3 separate regions of the Homo sapiens genome follow, and all the other regions are linked to region 2. The links are contacts of gene promoters, found by promoter capture Hi-C in human tissues and cell types (Jung and others, 2019). All regions are on one chromosome and are shown on one strand. Each heading gives the region's core, a stretch centred on a gene start or on the middle of the fragment in contact. The rest is flanking DNA. Distances are from core to core; before and after follow the strand shown. Region 1 overlaps HADHA (hydroxyacyl-CoA dehydrogenase trifunctional multienzyme complex subunit alpha). Region 2 holds the start of HADHA (hydroxyacyl-CoA dehydrogenase trifunctional multienzyme complex subunit alpha). Region 3 overlaps LOC105374334 (a long non-coding RNA gene).

What was found. The method cuts DNA at HindIII sites, captures the fragments that hold promoters and counts their contacts. A contact is called where the count stands out against the background at its distance.
Region 1: a fragment that was not itself captured here is called in contact with the fragment with the promoter of HADHA in region 2 in 3 of the 25 tissues and cell types used here (aorta, dorsolateral prefrontal cortex and spleen).
Region 3: a contact is called between a fragment that was not itself captured here and the fragment with the promoter of HADHA in region 2, in 1 of the 25 tissues and cell types used here (spleen).

The regions. Positions count from the first base shown.
Region 1 is chr2:26,192,499-26,196,742 of GRCh38, forward strand. It overlaps HADHA (hydroxyacyl-CoA dehydrogenase trifunctional multienzyme complex subunit alpha), which reads right to left. Exons shown (of 20, transcript NM_000182.5): 15 at 2,594-2,734; 16 at 2,072-2,140; 17 at 1,079-1,274. It also overlaps a transcript of GAREM2 not described here. Among named protein-coding and RNA genes, the nearest start is that of GAREM2, 22 kb to the left of the region's middle. The HindIII fragment of the contact is 5,401 bases long and covers 1-4,232 here.
Region 2 is chr2:26,242,369-26,246,162 of GRCh38, forward strand. HADHA (hydroxyacyl-CoA dehydrogenase trifunctional multienzyme complex subunit alpha) reads right to left here and starts at 2,264. Exons shown (of 20, transcript NM_000182.5): 1 at 2,162-2,264. The coding sequence starts at 2,228. HADHB (hydroxyacyl-CoA dehydrogenase trifunctional multienzyme complex subunit beta) reads left to right here and starts at 2,571. Exons shown (of 16, transcript NM_000183.3): 1 at 2,571-2,622. RefSeq lists enhancers at 80-620, 2,106-2,786, 2,641-2,740, 3,599-3,794. The HindIII fragment of the contact is 15,994 bases long and covers 1-3,794 here.
Region 3 is chr2:26,300,945-26,304,649 of GRCh38, forward strand. LOC105374334 (a long non-coding RNA gene) reads left to right here. Exons shown (of 4, transcript XR_939853.3): 1 at 1-3,178. Among named protein-coding and RNA genes, the nearest start is that of SELENOI, 43 kb to the right of the region's middle. The HindIII fragment of the contact is 3,170 bases long and covers 455-3,624 here.

The sequences.
Region 1 (4,244 bases), core at 282-2,781, 51 kb before region 2:
TGGCCTGGCCAGGCGTGGTGGCTCACGCCTGTAATCCCAGCACTTTGGGAGGCCGAGGCGGAGGATCATTTGAGGTCAGGAGTTTGAGACCAGCCTGGCCAACATGGTGAAACCCCATCTCTACTAAAAATACAAAAATTAGCTGGGCGAAGCAGGAGGATCGCTTGAACCCGGGAGGTGGAGACGAGATTATGCCACTGCACTCCAGCCTGGGCAACAGTGTGAGACTCTGTCTCAAAAAAAAACAAAAAACAAACAAAAAAGACCCTGACCTGAGAATTCTTGTCTCTGTTGGTCTATTATAAAGCTCTGGCCTCTTCTGAATTCCTGAATTTGTATGTCTAGCTAACCCTAGCAAATTAGTCTTTGTCAGAAGAGTGGGCAGAGAAGGAAAGAAGATCTTGTGACCCGGAGCTTGGGCATCTGTGTACATGGATGAGAAAGGCCACCTGGGTGAGTTTTAACATCCCCATATGCAGCACCGGGTCCTAGAACACCCAGGTTGTAATGCTGATTTTGCTGTTTTGCCAAGACAGAAAGTCACTTCTCTGTGGGCCTCAACTGTATACTGTGTATGGTGAGCTTATACATTCTCCTCACAGGTGGCCAGACAGCATGGTAAAGCCCGGATGCAGAGCTTGCTTCTGCACTATTGCAGATTTCATCTCTGGGGGATAAAAATGCTTGTCCATCTGGCATAACTTGGACCAGGTGATGCTAGAGCCCCAGAAGGGTAGAACTCTGCCTTTTGTCCATAATCTATAGTCCTAGCCCTTAGAAGGTTCACATGACATCTTTTTTTTTTTTTTTTTTTGAGAAGGGGCCTCGCCATGTTGCCCAGGCTGGCCTCACACTTCTGGGCTCAAGCGATCCTCCCACCTCAGCCTCCTAAGCAGCTAAGACCATAAGTGGTTGCTACCGCACCTGACTCATAAAATCATTTTTGAAATCGCCAGTGATAAGGGCTCTGTGTTTAGAAAACTTTCTTCCACGAGGGCTTCTGTAACTCTTTGGTCTCAGGAACTGCTTAGAACTTTGTAACTAATGGTGCTAGTTATGTTTCCTTGAGGCTACTCACCTAGGAAGCCCTTGGACACCATCTGTGTCAGCAGTTCTGGGTTTCCACCTCCAAACCGCTCCCCAAAGACTTTGCCCAGATCTTCCGCCACATGTTTCGCTACATCCACACCAACTTCATCCACCAGTGTGGCGGCACCCACAGGAAAGCCAAAGCTTGTGGTCAGGGAATCCAGCTTCTTCGGGTCAACTCCTTCCTGAACAGGAAGCGATGCAGGGACCTCAGGGGAAGGGCAGCCCAAATCCCCCCAAAGGGCTCCCTGTACTGGCTCCAAACACTGCCTTGTGTAAAACCCACTTCTGAGTGTCACCTGACCAGGCCCAGGACTGGTGCTATTTCATTCAGGGAAGCACAAAGAAGTTTGGGGCCACAAGTGGAAAGTCTGAGCCTTCTCTAATCTACAGCACTTTAAGGACGTTTAGAGATGACTAAATTCTTCATTTTCTTCTTGTTTGCATTTCTGAATCTCAATAATAAGGAGATTGCATGACAGACGGCTGAGTGTGTCATGACCAACAGAAGAAACATCATCAAAGAGGAGCACTCAGAGCCCTGTGATCCCCAAGTCTGGGTAAGTGCCCAGCGAGGAGGATCCCTCTCCTTTCCTGCCAGAATGACCTCGATGGCTACTGGAGAGGTCTGTGTGCTGTGGAAACAGATGCAGCACCAGTTGAACCAAGCGGGCCCTGTTCTGGATGGTCCCTGCCTCAGAGAGGTGCAGAAACAGCATAGAAGACATGCTGGGGGGTGGGGTGCCTTTAGCTTGCTGGAACAGTGAGGAGGCTGTGGGGCAGAGGGAAAGCTCTGCCCCTTTCAGTGCAGTATAAGCCCAACTTCCGACTGCTGTGCAGAGAGAGGGCACCAGGGACCTTCCTAGACAAGAGCAGGAGTTGGTGTATCAGAAGGAAGCTTGGTCCTTATCTTGACATCATGAGTTTTAGAGTGACTGAAGGAGTGGAAGATGCCGCAAACACTCTGGAGAGCAATACCAACCTGGAGGATTCGGATGACTTCAGACATCATGGGCGCAAGACACCTGGTAGTATAGAAGCCAGGTCCATCCTGCCAAGGAAGAGAACATGAGCTCCCTGGCCCTGCTGCTGGGACTGAGTCTGAAACACTCTACCTTTCCCAGGGTCACTTCAAAGTCATTTGAAAGTCACTGTAAAACTTAAGGTGACTTAAAATCTCAATCAGAATCCTTAAAAATGAAATTGCAGGGGAAGCCGTACTAGGGGTAGCCTGGCTTGAATCAAACAGTACAGCAGATAGTTTCATGGTCACCTTCAAGGTCTGGGATGGCTGGGAGAACCCTGCCACATCCTAGATACTCCCCACTCCCACCTTGACTCAGTGGGACAGTCAATACCACCGTCCATCCTGGAGACAACCCAGGGGAAAATCATATCAAAGTCTGGTCATTTGCCCCAGAATATTTATAAACAAGCCTGGAGGTAAAAGGAGTCTTATTAGAACTTTTCAAAAACTCTGCAGCTCTGTTATACAGCCCCTTACCTTAACCACAATGATGACCTTCCCCTGCTTGAGACCAACTGCTACAGCTGAAGCACTGGTGTCTTTGGAAGTTTTCTCGGTCGTGATAATCTCCAGCAGCTGCATCTTGTCCACGGGAGAGAAGTAGTGCATGCCAATCACCTGGCAAGGGGAACCAAAAGCCAACAGATCGGAGAATGCGGGTGAGGAACCTGAGAGCATTCCTTCTCTGCTAGGAAAACACTAGAAAGAAAGGTGGCTGTGATATAGGAATACTGCTTGACATAGCTGAGTGGTTTGGTTCCATGGGTCTTTGATAAAAGTTTAGTATGTTTAGGGAGAGCACATTGGAATCCTCCTCTTCCATTTGCTTCTAAGGTTTTTCACTACAGACATCTGATCCTCCCAACAATCAGTGCCAAAACCACAGCTCGAGGCCAAACTAGATTTATTGGGGAACGACGGATGAAGGTTCCACTTATATTAATGATACTGATGGTTTAGATAAGAGGATCCAGTTTTTTTGGGCGGGGGTGGGGCAGGCAGAAGAATTAATGTGTTGGGCTGTCAGAGAAGTATTTGCATTTTACACAGATGGGTCTCACCACCAGGATACTAGGTTTAACTAACACTCCTCAACAGTCAGATGCACTTAAGACTCATTAAACCAGCAGTTCTCCAAGTGTAGTACCCGGACCCAACAAGCACTGTCATCACCTGGGAGCGTTAGGCCTGCACATTCTCAGGCCTAGCCCAGCCCTACTGAATCAGAAACTCCATGGGTGGGGCCCAGATTTGTTTTAATAATCCCTCCTGGTGATTCTGATGCGTGCTAAGGTTTCAGAGAAACCCCTCATTGAGCTAACAGTTACATAGTCTTCCCAACAGAACTGTGGTGAAAGAAGTCTAATTCATTAATTTATAGTTTTGCTTTCTCCCTCTCACTTTAGCTATAAGGTACAACAAGTGATATCTGTAATTTTTGGCTGCTCATTATCTACCTGCTCTTCAATACATTTACCACTTATTCCTTACATTTAATCCATTACAACCCTATGAACTGGTCAGCCTAATTATCTAGATGAGGAAAAAAGGTATCAAGAGGTTAGTAGTACAGAGTCAGTCAGCATATGACGGGGTGGGATTCCATCACAGGTCTGTCTATCTCCAATGCCATTATGTAATACACAGATCAAGTAAATGTTATGTAAACTTATCAATCCAAAAGTTGTTTCTAACCCCTAAAGTGTTCTTTTACTTACATCTGAAATACTTAGGACCTGATTCAGACTCAGTACTCCTGAGCAAAAGGAATTAGCCTTTATTGATGTAGAATTTCTATATAATAAAATGCACAGATCTTGAAGTGTTCACATCAATGAGTTTTGACAACTGTATATACATCCATATAATCACTAACCCAAGCAAAATATATTTACATCACTCAGAAAGTTGTGCCAAAGATGACCAACTCATCCTGGATGGCTGGGGATTTCCCAATTTGTGGCACTGAGGGTCCTGTATCCCTTGCTCCCGGGCAAACCAAGATGGTTGGTCACCCTATTTTGTCTTTTTGGCCTTACTTTTAAATGAATGACAAAAGGCAAGCAGGTGAGAAAAGCTGTCCTAGATACTTGGAGGGCAGAACTGCAAAGTGTGATGCTTGCTCTGC
Region 2 (3,794 bases), core at 1,014-3,513:
GGGATCAGTAACTACAACGAATGATACTTTCTTACTGGTGAAAACACAATGCAAAGTATATATTTATGTGTCTATATATTTCTATACAGAAAACAGAAAAATTAGGTTGGTAGCTTTTTATTACACACATAAGATGTACAAATTACTTTTAAAAACTCTCAGATATATACAATCGTATTTCTTCCAGGCTGGAGTTAATAATATTTACTGAGTGCTTACTCCATGAAAAACTGCTTGATATCTAAAATAACTCCTTTTCATCACACAAGGTGGTATTATTCCCCATTTTACAAATGAGAAAACAAACACAGAAATTAATTGCCCAAGGTCATCAGAGGGTAAAAGGCAGAGCCAGGTCCAAACCCAGAAGTCAGACTCCAAACAATGTTTTTTTTGTTTGTTTGTTTGTTTTTGAGACGGAGGACCAGGCTGGAGTGCTGTGGCGCGATCTCGGCTCACTGCAAGCTCCGCCTCCCGGGCTCACGCCATTCTCCTGCCTCAGCCTCCCGAGTAGCTGGGACTACAGGCGCCCACCAACACGTCCGGCTAATTTCTTGTATTTTTAGTAGAGACGGGGTTTCACCGTGTTAGCCAGGATGGTCTCGATCTCCCGACCTCGTGATCCGCCCGCCTGGGCCTCCCAAAGTGCTGGGATTACAGGCGTGAGCCACCGCACCCGGCCCAAACAATGTTTATTAATTGCTCTGTCATGCTACTTCTCATGCAAAGGAAATCCATCATCTCAATCATTCATTTTGCAGATGAGGAAAATAAAGCCCATTTAGTTTAAGGCATTTGTCCAAAGTAACACAGCTAGTGACTAGAACCACGTGCCCTGGCTACCACTTCCGAGTGACATCAGCTGCCGATCCATAAGAAATACCTTCAAACCAATGCAGGGGTAAGATAAAAATTACACGTTACTTTTCAAAAGTGTTGTGAAAATAGGGGAAAAAAACCACCAAACCTGTAAGGAAACATAACCGAAGGCTAACCGTAGGTAAGCATATGAGTAGTAAGACAATGGGTGATTCGTTTTTTTTTCATCTCTTTCCTCAATCCTTACAGCATTTCAATGTTCTATAATGTGCTTATGTTATAATTGGCAAATACATGCTACAGTTTTGTGGAGACTAAAAACAGCTGTTGAAAAAAGGGAGCAGAAAAATATTCAATCATTAAAAAAATCCCCTTACAGTAAGGGATTTCAGCTACTTGTCTAAAAAAAGCATACTACTTCAGCGGTTCCGGAAGAGGGAAGAGAGGTAATTCATATTACAAATTAAATTAAAAGTTAAAATTTCTAGTTAAGTAACTTATTAAGCACAACATGCAATAAAACGTTGTCCACTTTTGACTTTACAGATTTGGGATGGAAAGAAAATGCAACGTTTCCTACAACCACCCACTTTAACCCTTTCACTGCCAGTTTGAAAAGGAAAAACACTAGCTAATACAGGCTGACTGGGAATCATCAGATTACAAATCGTTCTCAGAACGATCTAACATTTTATTGCTTAAGGTAGAGGTATTAGCGTATTTTTAAAGTGTGTCTTCCAGTAAGTTGCAGAACTTCCCGCTGAAATTCAAAATACTATACGTTCACACTGACATTACTGAAACTGCAAGAGTTGAGCTCCCTACTTGATTGGGGTAGTAAGCACAAAAATGGTTTTGAGGGAACGGAGCAGGGAGGGGCAGTGATCTGCAAGGCTGATTAATCCCATACAAGACAGCGCTTGTTGCGGGGTAAGGTGCTGTTTTTAAGACAGCTCTTGTTGCGGGGCAAGGTGCTGTGGAGCCACAAAGATGCGACAGAATGGATCCCGATTCTCCTGGAACTCCGGATCAAGAAAATATGAGGGGCGTGAGCCCAGAAGTGCGACGCAAGAGACCCGCGGAAAGGTGACAGAACGAGTGGCACCAGACTCAGAAAGTTGGGGAGTTAGGAAGCCTGAAATCGCCGCAGGAGTCGTGAGAGGGGAAGTGACAGTCTCTTCAGAAGGTCACGGGAAACCGGGTCCCAGGGCAGTATCCCCACAGAGGGCTGCGTCTCCGGGCTGGGGCAGGCGGCAGCGAAAGGGAGACGCGGCTCCGGGGCCACCCCAGTCCCGGCAGGAGTTCTGCCCGGAGGTCTGGGATGCCCTCGGCCAGGCCTCACCTCGGGAGCGGAGGATCCTGAAGGCAGAAAAGCGGCTGAGGATGCCAATCGCCCGGCAGGCCACCATCTTGAGCTGAAGAGGACAGCAGTGGAGAGCGCCTCTAACGGGTGCGGCCGAGCGGAGGACTTTTCTCCCGTAGCCTGGCAGCCAGGCGCCTGGAGCACTGCCTGACTAAAACCCAGATGCCGAGTGGCCGCCGGCCCCTTAGCCCTGCCCCTCGCTCCTGGCTAACATGGCCGAAAGGTCGTATTCTCCGGGGGAGGACGGGGGCCCGGAGAGGAGGGGGTGGAGTGCCTGGTTTTCCAGTCAGGCGGCCGGAGGGCAGCCCTCAAGAACGGCCCTGACCGCCCGCGGGGTGAGGGGCCCTTTCTGGGCAGGACCCGCCCCTTGGTCCCGCAGAGCCTTGGTACTTGGACCTGAACCTTGCTCCGAGAGGGAGTCCTCGCGGACGTCAGCCAAGGTGAGACGGCGAGCCCTCAGCTCTCCGCCCGGGCTTTCCCAAAGGCGAGATTCCACTTCCTTCCCCGCAACTGTCGCCGGTGCCCCCGGCCCCCTCCCCTCCCTGGGAAAGTGGGAGTTGAGGGAGCGGAAGGAAACTCCTCGGACAAGGTCGGCAGTGCTAGCTGCAGTTAGGACAGTGACTTGGACTAGCGTTCCAGCTGAAGTTCGGGACAGTAGTGTCACCTGCGCCCTAATTTATCATCACAAGTTAACGAAGTCTGGGGGTGTGGGGGTGTGTGTGTGTGTGTGGGTGTGTGTGGGCGTGTGTGGGCGTCGGCCTTAATGTAACCCTGGTCTGCGTAGAAGTGTGTGTTGTTTCGCCTGCTTCCCCTGTACCCAGGTCGGCGGCTATAGAGATTGTGGACGGCGCCATGGGTTTGCCCGATTTCTGCTGTAAAGAATAAGACTAGGTCAGGTGACCTTTCGGGGCTTGAGTGTGGGAGGAACGGAGACAATCCTCCATCCGGCTCCGTTATCCAGATAATCCTGCGCTCTCGGGGGTTTTCCGATCTGGATGATTATCTATCTGGTCGTTCACACCTCAGCTCACTTAAGCGGTGAAGAAACTGCCTACGAATCAGAGAGAGTGATTTTACCCATGGCCATATGTAGTAGAAATAAGACTGGAGCCTAAGTCTACTAACTCCTAGTGAAGAGTTCTTCATTGCATGGTAGCTGTTTTTGTGCTGGAATGATGGGCTGGAGTCCTGGAATAAAGTGATTGATTTCAAAAGGAAGTCACATTGAGAGCCTGCTGTGCTCTGGTCACCTTCATACCTTTTTGTTTAGTCCTCACATTCCCCAAATTATTATCATTTGCATTTTCTAGATGAAGTTTGGGAAGCTCAGAATATATACATTTTCTAGTCTGTGACAGACCTAGCATTCAGACATAAGTCTGAGTCTCACTACTCGCCAGACTGACAGCTCTGCAGGACAGGAAACAAGGGGCATCGAAGTTAAGACTGAAATGAGTATAGAGACAGAGTAGAGAGGTTTCTGTTTAAAGCTCAAGTTGCATAGTGAGTGCTCATCATGTGAGCACTTTAAGCAGAAACTGGATGACCTGACCACTTCTGAATAAATTGCAAAAAGGATTCTTGATAATCTTACAAGGTTTTTACAGTTCAG
Region 3 (3,705 bases), core at 790-3,289, 58 kb after region 2:
GGAGATGTATTATTGGGGGACAAAAAGTGCAGCATGAGTTTCTATATATGCCAAATTATCCAGTGCCCTTGTTGAAAAGAGACTTACTCCAGAAACTGCAGGCACAAATCTCCTTTACACCTAAAGAGAATATGACACTAGAGTTTAGAAAGTTTAAGGCAATGGTTTTGACTATAACTGTCTCAAGAACTGAGAAATGGCGGCTCTATAAACTGTGTGCCAGAAGGCCACTGGAGGCGGACCTACACAATATGCGGGGAATGCTTTTCAAGGTACCAGGTGTATGGACCGAGCACAACCTCCCTGGACTTGCTGCAAACAGACCCCCGGTCGTAGTAGAGCTTAGCCCTTATGTTCCCCGGTACAAGTCCGTCAATACCCACTACCCAGAGAGGCAATTGATGGCATAACGAAACATTTAAATCGGCTCTGTGAACATAGGATTATACTGAAATGCAAGTCCTCCTGGAATACTCCTCTGCTGCCTGTGCAGAAGCCAAATGGTGAATACAGGCCAGTTTACAAAGTGTCCAAGGACAAGGCAAAAGTCTTTTTTCAGCAGGTTGGATAGCTAAGATTCATGGTATCCCAAGGCCAGTGCAGGCTTGGAAGTGCACGCAAGGAGGCTGTAGGTGCATTGCCCACCCACAGGTCAGGGAATTTCTAGGTGCGGCGGGATTCTGCCGAATCTGGATTCCAAACTTCTCCCTTATAGCAAAGCCCTTATATGAGGCTACCAAAGGAAAAGAAAGAGAGCCCCTCCTATGGGAAAAGGAATAGGAAAAGGCCTTCAAAGATATAAACGAAGCTCTCATCCAAGCCCCGGCGCTAAGGTTGCCAGATATTAAAAAGCCCTTTTTTTGTATGTGAATAAACGAAAGGGAATGGCAGTCGGAGTCGTAACTCAGCTGGGCTCTTAGCATCGGCCGGTAACACACTTATCCAAGAGACTGGACTTGGTGGCCTTAGGTTGGCCCCACTGCCTCAGGGCGTTGGCAGCTACTGCAATCCTTCTAAAAGATGCCAACAAGCTAGCCCTAGGTCAGAAGTTAATAGTTCGGGTGCCACATGCTGTAGTCACCTTAATGGAGCAAAGAGGACATCATTGGCTGTCCAACTCTAGAATGCTAAAGTATCAAGGGCTTCTGTGTAAAAATCCCCAGATAACACTGGAGACTGTAAATACCTTGAACCCAGTTCCCCTGCTGCCTGTGGAGGAACCCGACTGGAAGGACGGTAGGTTGCCTCGCTGCTGGCAGGACCTTCTCCACTGTTGCCTAAATACGGTGGATGAAGTGTTCTCGAGCCAGGAAGATCTCAGAGATATCCTCCTTGGAGAGCCCAGATGTTGAATACTTCACTGATGGTAGCAGTTTCATAACAGATGGGGTACGATATGCAGGGTATGCCGTAGTGACCCAACACTCAGCAGTTGAGGCTCAAGCCTTACCTTCTGGGACTTCTGCTCAGAAGGCTGAATTAATAGCATTAACCGGATCACTGTTATTGGACAAGGGGAAGAAAGTAAATATATATACTGATTCAAGATATGCTTTTGCAACCCTGCATGCCCATGGGGCAACATGCAAAGAGAGAGGACTTTTGACTACTAAAGGAAAAAAAATTAAAAAAAAAAATAAAGAGGAAATTTTGCAATTATTAGAAGCCATATAGGCTCCAGAAAAGGTGGCTGTCATTCATTGCAAAGAACACTAAATGGAAAAAAGCTATGAATCACAGGGCAACAGAAAGGCAGACCTAGAGGCTCTGCGGGCATCAATGAGCAAGGCTTTACCTGAAGAAAGACCTATAGCAACGCCTCTCCTTATAGAGCCCCCTTTGCCGGAGGTACCCAATTACTCTTCAAGTGAAACAGCTTGGTTTGGTCAGGAAACAAAAAAATATATTAAAGGTGGATGGTGGCTCTGACAGGAGGCTAGCCATCCCAGAGACAATAGCCCCAAGGTTTGTGAAGCAGATCCATCAAGGAACACACATTGGAAGGACAGCTCTAGAGACTTGGATAGGTTGGCATCTCTATGTGCCATGGCTGTCTGCCATGACCCGTGCTGTTTGTGAACAATGTCTATCTTGTGCCCGGAGTAATCCAAAACGAGGACCTACTCAACCTCCAGGAATTCAGGAAGTAGGAGCTGTGCCTTGTGAGAACCTGCTTATAGACTTTACCGAGTTGCCTTGAGCAGGAGGTTACCAGTATATGCTAGTGTTTGTTTGCACCTACTCGGGGTGGGTTGAGGCCTTCCCCACCGGAACTAAAAAGACACAAGAGGTGACAAAGGTGCTACTGAAAGACATCATACCAAGGTTTGGGTCGCCTCTAACCCTAGGATCAGACGACGGTCCTGCATTTGTGGCAGAAGTTGTACAACAGCTAACTCAACTTTTAAAGATCAAATGGAAACTGCACACAGCCTATCGACCACAGAGTTCAGGGAAGGTGGAACGCATGAACCAGACACTCAAACAGCTACTGAAGAAATTGTGTCAAAAAAACTCATCAAAAGTAGGATCAGGTCTTGCCCATGGTCCTCCTCCAAGTCAGGTGCACCTCCACCAAACAAACTGGGTATTCGCCCTCTGAGATTTTTTTCGGCCGGCCACCCACCCACCCATCATAAGACAGATTAAAGGTAATCTCTGTAAACTAGAAGAACTAACTTTAAGAAGGCAAATGCAGACTTTAAGTATGGCCATGTAAGAATGCATGACTGGGTATAGAAAAATGCCTATAAGTCTAACAGACCCAGTACACCCTTTCAAACCTAAGGATTTTGTTTAAGCTAAAATAATGGAATCCAACCATTCTGGGACCCATACAGGATAGGTCTCGTATTGTAATCATGTCTGCTTCCACTGCTGTTAAAGTTGCAGGTGTCACACCTTGGATTCACCATAGCCAGCAGAAACCAGTGGCAACAGAGACTCCCGATGATAACCAGTGGATTAACCAACAAGACCCAGATCGCCCCACCTGAATAGTCCTACGGCGAAACCCAACCACCGGTAAGAAGGACAACTGGCCTGCTCTGACCACACCGGAGGATGGTCAGTCTATGCACGGCTGAAGCTTGAGGATCCTGCAAGCTCTGCTCTAGTCACATCCTGGAAGCTGACTAGTCTACGCACAGTCGAAGCTAAGAGGACCATATCCGGATAAGTAAATGTGGATACAATTTATAAGCCTACTTACAATTCTGTCAACACTGATTGCTCTGCTGTTATGTTATCATTGCAAATGCTGCAAATGTCTATGCCCAGAGGAAGGTTTGCCATGCCCATGTATAGTATAGGCATGTTTCTATTACATACACTGTTGTCGTTACCATTTCTGCCTATACTAGAAGGGGAGAAATCTCTAGAAGGATGTCCACACTGTGTACATACTATCTGGGTAAGGAATAGCGTAGTTAAAACTCTACTGTACCATACCTACTATAAATGTACAGGAACCAAGTTAGAAACCTACACATACAACCAGAAACAGTCTGCAATGGTTTAACACAAGAGAGGCTTAGCAAGAGCAGCCCTAAACACCTGTACGGAGAGCTACAAATCGGATGCCCAGACTGTAACATTCGGTGGTCTACACTAACACATCTCCAACACTTATATTCAGGAAGGATTGCTCTGCTAAGTAGTATGTCAACCAAACCAAATTGTAAGGCAAGAACATGCAATCCTTTA